2 separate regions of the Homo sapiens genome follow, and region 2 is linked to region 1. Evidence: promoter capture Hi-C in 16 types of primary human blood cells and fetal thymus (Javierre and others, 2016). All regions are on one chromosome and are shown on one strand. Each heading gives the region's core, a stretch centred on a gene start or on the middle of the fragment in contact. The rest is flanking DNA. Distances are from core to core; before and after follow the strand shown. Region 1 holds the start of MC5R (melanocortin 5 receptor). Region 2 has its middle 76 kb from the start of ZNF519.

Region 1 (4,425 bases), core at 1,142-3,641:
GAGATGAAGGAAGAACGGGGCCCAGCACACGGTAAACACGCCCAGCAGCATGGTGACGGTGACCGCGCCCTGCATGCTGGTCCTCTGCCGCGCAGAGCTGGCCCCGGGCAGAGCCGCGATCCGCTTGACGTGAGTCCGCGCCAGGAGGAACATGTGTATGTACAGAGACACCAGGAGGAACAGCATAGCGAAGAACATGGAGATGAGGCACAGGATGACGTAGGTGGATTCTGAGTACAGGATGAAGACAATGCCGCAGCCCGTGCAGAAAGCCCAGATGCCGGCGATGATGGCCCCTGAGCGCCTCGCCGTCATGATGTGGTGGTAGCGCAGGGCGTAGAAGATGGTGACGTACCTATCCACTGCAATGGCCAGTAAGCTGCACATGGATGCCACCACGGAAATGCAGATCATGGAGTCAAACACATTGTCAATGTGGCGCACAAAGGCGTCTGCTATCACTAGGTGCTTGTTGTTGAGTAGGTAGATGGTGATGGTCTCCCAGGCACTGGACATGCTCACCAGCATGTCCGCCACTGCCAGGCTGCACACGAAGAAGTACATGGGGGAGTGCAGGTTTTTGTTCTTCACTATGGCCCCTATGACCAAGATGTTCTCCAAGAGGCTGATGACACCCAGAGTGAGAAACACCTCCACAGCAATGCCCATGTCTTCACATGGTGAAGACTTGTTTTTGACATTGGGTCCTGAAAGGTTGCCCTCTGTGGCATTCAGGTTGAGATCCAAGAAATGCAGGTGAAATGAGGAATTCATTGCTGGAGAAATACACCTCTTGTCTTGGCAGCAAATTTACTGTAAAACATGTTTTAAATTCACAATCCAAAGAGGTTAGCAGCCTACCAAAGAAAGACAGCAGCTAGCCTAGAACCAACACAGCCTAAGAAAGGGGATGAATGACACAGTGCATCAGAGGACTGGGCTCGGCTCACTCAGTCCTTTTTTTTTTTTTTTTTTAAGAGACAGGGTCTCCCTATGTTGCCCAGTCTGGTCTCAAACTCCTGGCCACAAGCGATCTTCTCTCTCAGCCTCCCAAAGTGCTGGTACTACAGGGGTGAGCCACGTGCCCGGCAGCTGGCTTGCACATTCTGACCTGCGTTCCTGAGACCTGGAAGAGTGCCCCTGGACACGCAGATTAGAATCTTCACCAGCCTCTTCTGCTCTCCTTGCTTTCAGCTCCCAGCCTTTCACATGCATCTTACTAGAGAGACACTCACCTCCAAGTGCCCAGGACAGTTTCACTTTTTATGGCTTCTCTCCTGGGCTCAAGTTCACTATCATAAGTGTCCCCAACTCATAACCTACAAAATCCCAGCCAGTCTCCCAATGTTCACATTCCTAAGGCTACTGCACGACATTCTCCTCAAGGGAGCTCCGATTTAAGACTGCCCAGACCCGTATTCCCTTAAGACAGACAGACAGGTGCATCCCTAACACTTGTCCTGACACTTCTTAGACCCATCAGGATTCAGCCTCCACAGCTGTAAGTAAGGCTATAACCAGAATGGTCTGTTACCCTGAGCAAAGTCACATGTTAAAAGCTACTGTCTTAAGTTTGTAAGTGTAGGCTGCACATACGTGTTAAAATTGAGGAAAACAGTGCTGCTTTTCCCTCAATACCTATTTTTCCCTCGCTTCTGCATTATGTGGAATTCCATGAGGTCTGCTTGATAGTTTATTAGGTCCGCGTGAGCACAGTATTTAAAAAAAAAAACAGCAATTTAAATGTACCACACTCCTTTGTTGCAAAATTTCTCTCTTATGATTCATTTTCAAAAATCCCTTTGCCCTCCAAACTCAGATCACATCTGGAGAGAATTTCTGTCATCACTGTCATCATTAATATTTGTAATCACTTTGGGAGGGAGGGAGGGGGTGAGGGACAACAAATTACTTAATAGGTACAATGTACACTATAGGGGTGATGGCTACACTAAAAGCCCAGTCTCCACCACTATGCAATACATCCATATAACAAAACAGCACCTGTACCCCCTAAATCTATAAAAATAAAAAAGGAAAAAATTGGTAATCTAAGCATTTATTGAACTACAATCATTTGTTACAGCTGAGTTCCAGCTCAGATATATCGGTAAATTATGCAATTATACTAAACATCATATCGAGCTGTGTTAAAAACTCACGGGGCAAGCTAGCTGCCGCCCCGCTCACTTCCACATGCAGCGGAAGCGCGATTTTGCATTTATTCTCAGGATCTCAAGGAGATAGAAAGTTGTGGCTATTTACCGGTGCTCCTCCTCGCGGGCCGCGGCGCTCAGCCCGGGCCCCCGGCGTCCCCGGGATCCGACGGCCGTGCGGCGCTCAGAGCCAGCCCCGGACGGGCCTCTCCCCCAGCTAGGCGGCTGCGGCTCTGCGGGGCTTTAAGCCTCCTGCCTGCCCGCGCCGGGCCCGCCTCCGCACCGCCGGCTGTCGCTCCGGGCGGCCTCCGCTGCCACCTAGTGGCCCAGCACGGCACAGCGGCCAGAGAACCGCGTCAGCCCCGAGCGAAAATCCCCCCGAACACACTCTTGAATGGTTGGATGGTTGCTTGGTTGGTTGGTTGGTCGGTCGGGTCGGTGGGTCGGTCGGTCGGTCGGTCGGTCGGTTGAATGGTTGGTTGGGTGAGTGGTTGCTTGGTTGGGTAGTTGGTTGGTTGAGTGGGTGGGTGGGTGGTTGCTTGTTTGGTGATTGGTTGGTTGGGTGAGCAGGTGGTTGCTTGCTTGGTTGGTTGGGTGGTTACGGGTTAGTTAGTTGGGTAGGTGGGTGGTTGCCTGATTGGTTGATTGGTTGATTGGTTAGGTGAGTGGATGGTTACTTGGTTGCTTGGCTGGTTGGGTGGGGGGTTCGTTGATTGGGTAGGTGGGTGGTTCCTTGGTTGGTTGATTGGTTGGTTGGGTAGGTGGGTGGTTGCTTGGTTGGTTGATTGGTTGGTTGGGTAGGTGGGTGGTTGCTTGGTTGAGTGAGTAGATGGTTACTTGGTTGCTTGCTCGCTTGCTCGCTTGCTTGGGTGGGTGGGGGGTAGTTGGTTGGGTAGGTGGGTGGTTGCTTGGTTCGTTGATTGGTTGCTTGGGTGGGTGGGTGGTTGGTTGGGTGAGTGGATGGTTGCTTGGTTGGTTGATTGGGTAAGTGGGGGTTGGTTGGGTAGGTGGGTGGTTGCTTGGTTGGTTGGTTGGGTCAGTGGGTGGGTGGGTGGTGGGTGGTTGCTTGGTTGGTTGGTTGGGTCAGTGGGTGGGTGGGTGGGTCGTTGGGTGGGTGGTTGCTTGGTTGGTTGGTTGGGTCAGTGGGTGGGTGGATGGGTGGTTGGGAGGGTGGTTGGTTGGTTGGTTGGTTGGCTGGGTCAGTGGGTGGATGGATGGGTGGTTGGGTGAGTGGTTGCTAGGTTGGTTGGGTCAGTGGGTGGGTGGATGGGTGGTTGGGTGGGTGGTTGCTTGGTTTGGTTGGTTGGGTCAGTGGGTTGGGTGGATGGGTGGTTGTGTGGGTGGTTGGTTGGTTGGTTGGTTGGGTCGGTGGGTGGATGGATAGGTGGTTGGGTGGGGGAGTGGTTGGTTGGGTCAGTGGGTGGGTGGATGGGTGGTTGGGTGGGTAGCTGCTTGGTTGTTTTTCTGGCTGGTTGCACTTTTTGTTTCTTTTCTCTTCCTCTTGAGCACTGATTAAAATGCTCCCGAGCTCAAAGAGGGCTTGTCACCCCGTTTCTCCTGGACAGTGGTCTCTGGGATGTCCTGATGATTGTTCTTTGGGAAGGAGGCCCAGTGCCTGGGAGCCCTCATCTGTGGCCCTACCACGCCCCTCTTTGCCCAAGGCTCTCACCCCTCCTCCAGGACTACACATGCCATGCCAGGCTTTATCAACCACACAGGCTTTCCTTACTCCAGCAAAAAAGAACAAAGGATGTCCTCTCACCAAATATCCTGGCCTTTCGCAATAGTTTCTGGACCCCACTCCTTCTCTGACACCTAAAACTGACCTTCAACCCCCAAAAGAATCATTATACTCACAATAAGCAGAAGTGCCACTGCCCTGCAAGCCAGGGCAGGATGCACGGGGCCATATCACTACCAGAGCTTTCCTTGGGCTTTGCAGATGATCACAACCTTCCAGTATTTCAAGTGTGGGGACCACAGTCTGGCTGGCCTCACGCCACTGGAGTCCCAAGCCGTGCTGGGAGCCACAGGGTGGAATTCTAGAAGGAGGTTCTGAATGTTGAGAATACATATTGGGAATGTGGTGTGAGGGAGGGAACCCATTTCCGTGTGTTGAAAACATCAGCAGGGTCAAGCACTCCCACATATAGTCCTCACATCCAAGATCAGATCAGAGAGGGCTCTGCAAAAGGTCCTGGTGTCCCAGGAAAGTGCTCAAAATGGAGGGCTCTGTGCAAGATGAGCAGCTGGACCACAGCAGGCGGCC
Region 2 (4,189 bases), core at 1,261-3,760, 230 kb before region 1:
GACCACAATGAAAGCCATCTCAAACCAGTCAGAATGGCTACTATCAAAAAGTCAAAAAAAAAAAAAAAAAAAGATCCTGGTAAGGCAGTGGAGAAAAGGGAATGTTTATACATTGTTGGTGGGAGTGTAAATTAGTTCATCTACTGTGAAAATCAGTTTGGAGATTTCTAAAAGAATCTGTAACAGAAGTATATTTTCACCGAACAATCCCATTACTGGGCTTGTATCCCAAAGAAAACAAATTGTTCTACCAAAAAGACACATGCACTTGCATGTTCATTGCAGCAGTATTCACAACAACAAAGAATAGAATCAACCTCAGTGCTCATCAGTGGTGGACTGGATAAAGAAAATGTGATACATAAGCACCATGCAATACTACACACCACAGAAGAGAACAAAATCATGTCCTCTGCAGCAGCACGGATGCAGCTGGTGGCCATTATCCTAAGTGAGTTAATGCAAGAACAGAAAACCAAATGCCACATTTTCTCATTTATAAGTGAGAGCTAAACATTGGGTACTCATGGAAATAAAGAAGGCAGCAGTAGAAACCAATGACAACTAGAGGTGGGAGGGAGGCAGCAAGGGTTGAAAAACTAACTATTGGGTACTGTGCTCAGTACCTGGATGATGAGATCATTCTTAAAAATATTTGTTATTATATTTGAATATAAATATTAATTAATTTAACTTTCTAAGCATACCCTTCCACTTTATCCCAAAATATATTTATTAACTTTTAAAATATGAATATATACTGAGGTCAAAAAATGATGCTCTAACTTGTGATTTATAACGGTTGGGAATATAATTTAAAAAATTGATAAAGTCTTGATTGAAAACTGCTTGTATTTTTAAAGTGTAACTATTTAGAGAATAAAATAGGAATTGTTCAATTATTAATTTATGAATATTTACAGAGCATTATACTGAGAAATGTAGTTGGATGATGCTTCAATTTGAATAAAAGATTAGGCTCTCAAGTACAGCATTTCTTTCACTGCTAATGAGAAAGAATCCAAACTCTCTGTGAAAGGAAAGAAAGTCACACATTTCTTGACATGTTGCAGGATCTCCTATATTCTTTATATTTGAAGGAGTTTACCGTGAAGAAGCTGACTGCTATGAACAGCATGTGAAGGTGGAGGAATTCCAGCCCAGTGAGGAGCTCCCCTGAACCAACTGGCCTCAGTGACCCTCAGAAGGAGTCAAGGTGGGTATACGCAGCCTGGCAGCCCATGAGGCCCAAGGGGAGGGGAGGGAGCAGCACGGATTTAAGACCCACGTCCACTCCTGAGAAGAGAGCAGCAGGATTTGGTGCTTCTCCTCCAAGCAGGTTTAGAAAAGCCCCTTGTGATGGGCTCTGCCCAGTAACCATGGGTCCAGCTGCCACAAACCCCAAGGGACACCCCAACATTCTGCCTGGAACCCTCCTAGTAGCTGGCATTCTGGATTGGTCAATTTTATGGTCACAGACAGGGGAAATTTGTGAATGAAATATACTTATCTCATGACCTCTTCTACAGACTCCACCATTTTTGGCATCTCCTCCTTTGCCTCTTATTGCTTGGAGAGTTTGGATCTCTCTTTCAATTCTCGAAACAGAGAATTGAATTCCTCCATCAGCATCAAGTTGGTGCTCCTCATTTTTTTTTTAAGTATCCTAAGTCTGGGTATATTTAAAGACTCTATCTACCCTGACATTCTCTAAAGATAATTCAATCTCTGCAAACTCCTTACTGGTAGCACTAAGCTTGTTAGTGAGTTGGCATTTCTTTTCAATCTGTGAATTTAGTGTTTCCACAGTTGTTTCCACGCTTTACACAAAGTTGACCCCTAACAGACTGAACAAGCCTCAATAAAACCATGAGACCCACCAATAACCCGATGAGAGGCAAACACACCAGTGTCTCCACCTGGAGTTTGTGGACAGTGAGTTGTGGACTGAGATCATGTGGCAGGAGCTCCACCACCACCTTGCCCAGCTTCTGAAGGGTCAGTCCAGGGCCCAGGTCCACAGAGGATCTCAGACTCTCCATGGCACTGCAGCCACCACAGAGCTCTGCCCAGTAACCGTGGGTCCAGCTGCCACAACAAACCCCAAGGTACACCCCAACATTCTGCCTCGAACCCTACTAGTAGCTAGCATTCTGGATTGGTCAATTTTATGGTCACTGGCAGGGGAAATTTGTGAATGAAATATACTTATCTCCATTACAATTTGATGATCATTCTCCTTTCCATCTTATTGTTTTATCTTAACACAAAATTAAACTATAGTGAAATGTGCAGATGTTATCTGTCAATGACTTTACAGATTTTTATAACTTTATATTCCTTACAGTATCCAACAGCCCTATTAATATATGGATCATATCAGCACAGAAAATCCCCTCTGACATTTCAGACAGGCCCACCCACTCTACCATACACAGCCCTGTTTTGATTTTTATTTTATACATCATTTTTGACAGTTCTTCAACTTCATAAAAATTACAAAAATCACATTGTACACCTTCATGTGCGCCTCTTTTACTTGAAAGTGACTATTCCACAGATTTTCAATCAGTGGGTGTTTGTACATGCTAGGCGGGCTGTGGAAGGAAGTCAAATGGTCTACAAATGAGTTATTTTGATAGTCTCAGGTTACACATCCAGGTCTTACAGTCCTCCAGCTCAGAAGATTGTTTTCTTTACAATGTAATGGAGAAACATTCTTCTTAGTATGTTTATTTTTTATTTGGTGACTTACAAAAATTGATTTTCTGTAAAACAAGAGAGGCTTAAATGACATTAGGTCCCCTACTCCATTCTCTTTATAAACTGATTTTCATTTACTTGCTGTATCAGTTCTCAAGATAGATATTATTATACTATCTAGTCATTTTAGACTAAAACTTTACTAATTTATATTCAAACTCCTGTATATTAGGGATGGGATAGATTTTAACTATAAATTTTTATTCAGCATGTTTAATTTTTTCTTTTACATTCTTAAAATACTGATACTTATTTGAAAAGTGCCTTCTAGTAGTATAGGTAATTAAAAATACATGTAAATACATAAATTAGTTTTAAATTTTTCAGTAAAACCTTGTTTTTTTAATGGAAAGAAAATATGTCTTAGAAATAAAGTTTAATCTTACATTCCTACAAAATATATAACAGTGTTTTCCAAAGTTCTCCTTGACAGAGAAAGAGAGAGAGAGAAAGCAACCAAAGAGTAAATTGGAATTCATCAAAATTAGAAAACTAAGCTTTGTGGAAGTCCCCTTTAAAGGGATAAAGTAACATACTACAGACGTAAGGAAGTATTGGCCAGCTGCATATCTGACAAAGGGTAGTATCCAGAACATGTGAAAAACACTCCGAATGCCACAGTGGGGAAAAACTCAATTACATTAGGTAACAGATGTGAAGTGACATTTCCCTGAGGAGGAGATGGAGATGGCAAGTATCCACATGAAAATATGTTAGCTATTTCTCGGAGATGCAAATTGAAATCATACTGCAATATTATGGCAAATTTACCAGAATGCTTTAAGCAAAATACGGAAAATGTACCAAATACTGGTGAGCATGTGGAGAAACTGGATCACTCATATTGCTGGTGGTAATTTATTTAAAATGATATAGCCACTATGGGAAAAAAGTGTGGCAGCTTTTTTTTTTTAATATGGCAGTGAATTTCCTGTAATCAAAAACAACCATGACAAATTCATTAAATATCAAAAGCTACATTTTACTAAAAACAATCTGTCTTTTTAAATGTTGAATCATACACTGTATATAATACATGCTTCTTTCCCTCTTGGACTTCACTATCCATTTGAGTCCTTCAGCTAGCGTCAAGCACTTAGCCTCTGCTGTCTCTGACTTGGAGTAATCCCAGGCTTTGAAATCTCAAAGGTATTCACAATCTCCTCCCAGTCAGGGTACCTCACAGCTAGAATTCCTCGATTCCTAACTTGGGTGTTTTGGTGAATTTCCTCACTTTCTTCATTAATATTAACAGGCTCTATTATTTGCAGTCGGTCTTGGTCAGGTTTTACTCTTGCAAAACCATCCTGTATAATGAAGGAAACATGAAAGATGTTTTCCACTGTTTGGGGGAAAGATTGTGGATCAACCACAAAGGCAAAGAAGGACGCTGGGTAGCATCTCGAATATACAACTGCAACAATCC

What was found. The method cuts DNA at HindIII sites, captures the fragments that hold promoters and counts their contacts. A CHiCAGO score of 5 or more calls a contact.
Region 2: a contact is called between a fragment that was not itself captured here and the fragment with the promoter of MC5R in region 1, in 1 of 17 cell types (megakaryocytes). The highest score is 5.1, in megakaryocytes.

What each region holds. Positions count from the first base shown.
Region 1 is chr18:13,822,115-13,826,539 of GRCh38, reverse strand. MC5R (melanocortin 5 receptor) reads right to left here and starts at 2,391. Exons shown (of 2, transcript NM_005913.3): 1 at 2,266-2,391; 2 at 1-813. The coding sequence starts at 774. RefSeq lists silencers at 2,187-2,276, 2,287-2,576, 2,542-2,722. The HindIII fragment of the contact is 16,860 bases long and covers 1-4,425 here.
Region 2 is chr18:14,054,427-14,058,615 of GRCh38, reverse strand. It overlaps the pseudogene LOC100128776. Among named protein-coding and RNA genes, the nearest start is that of ZNF519, 76 kb to the left of the region's middle. The HindIII fragment of the contact is 1,504 bases long and covers 1,759-3,262 here.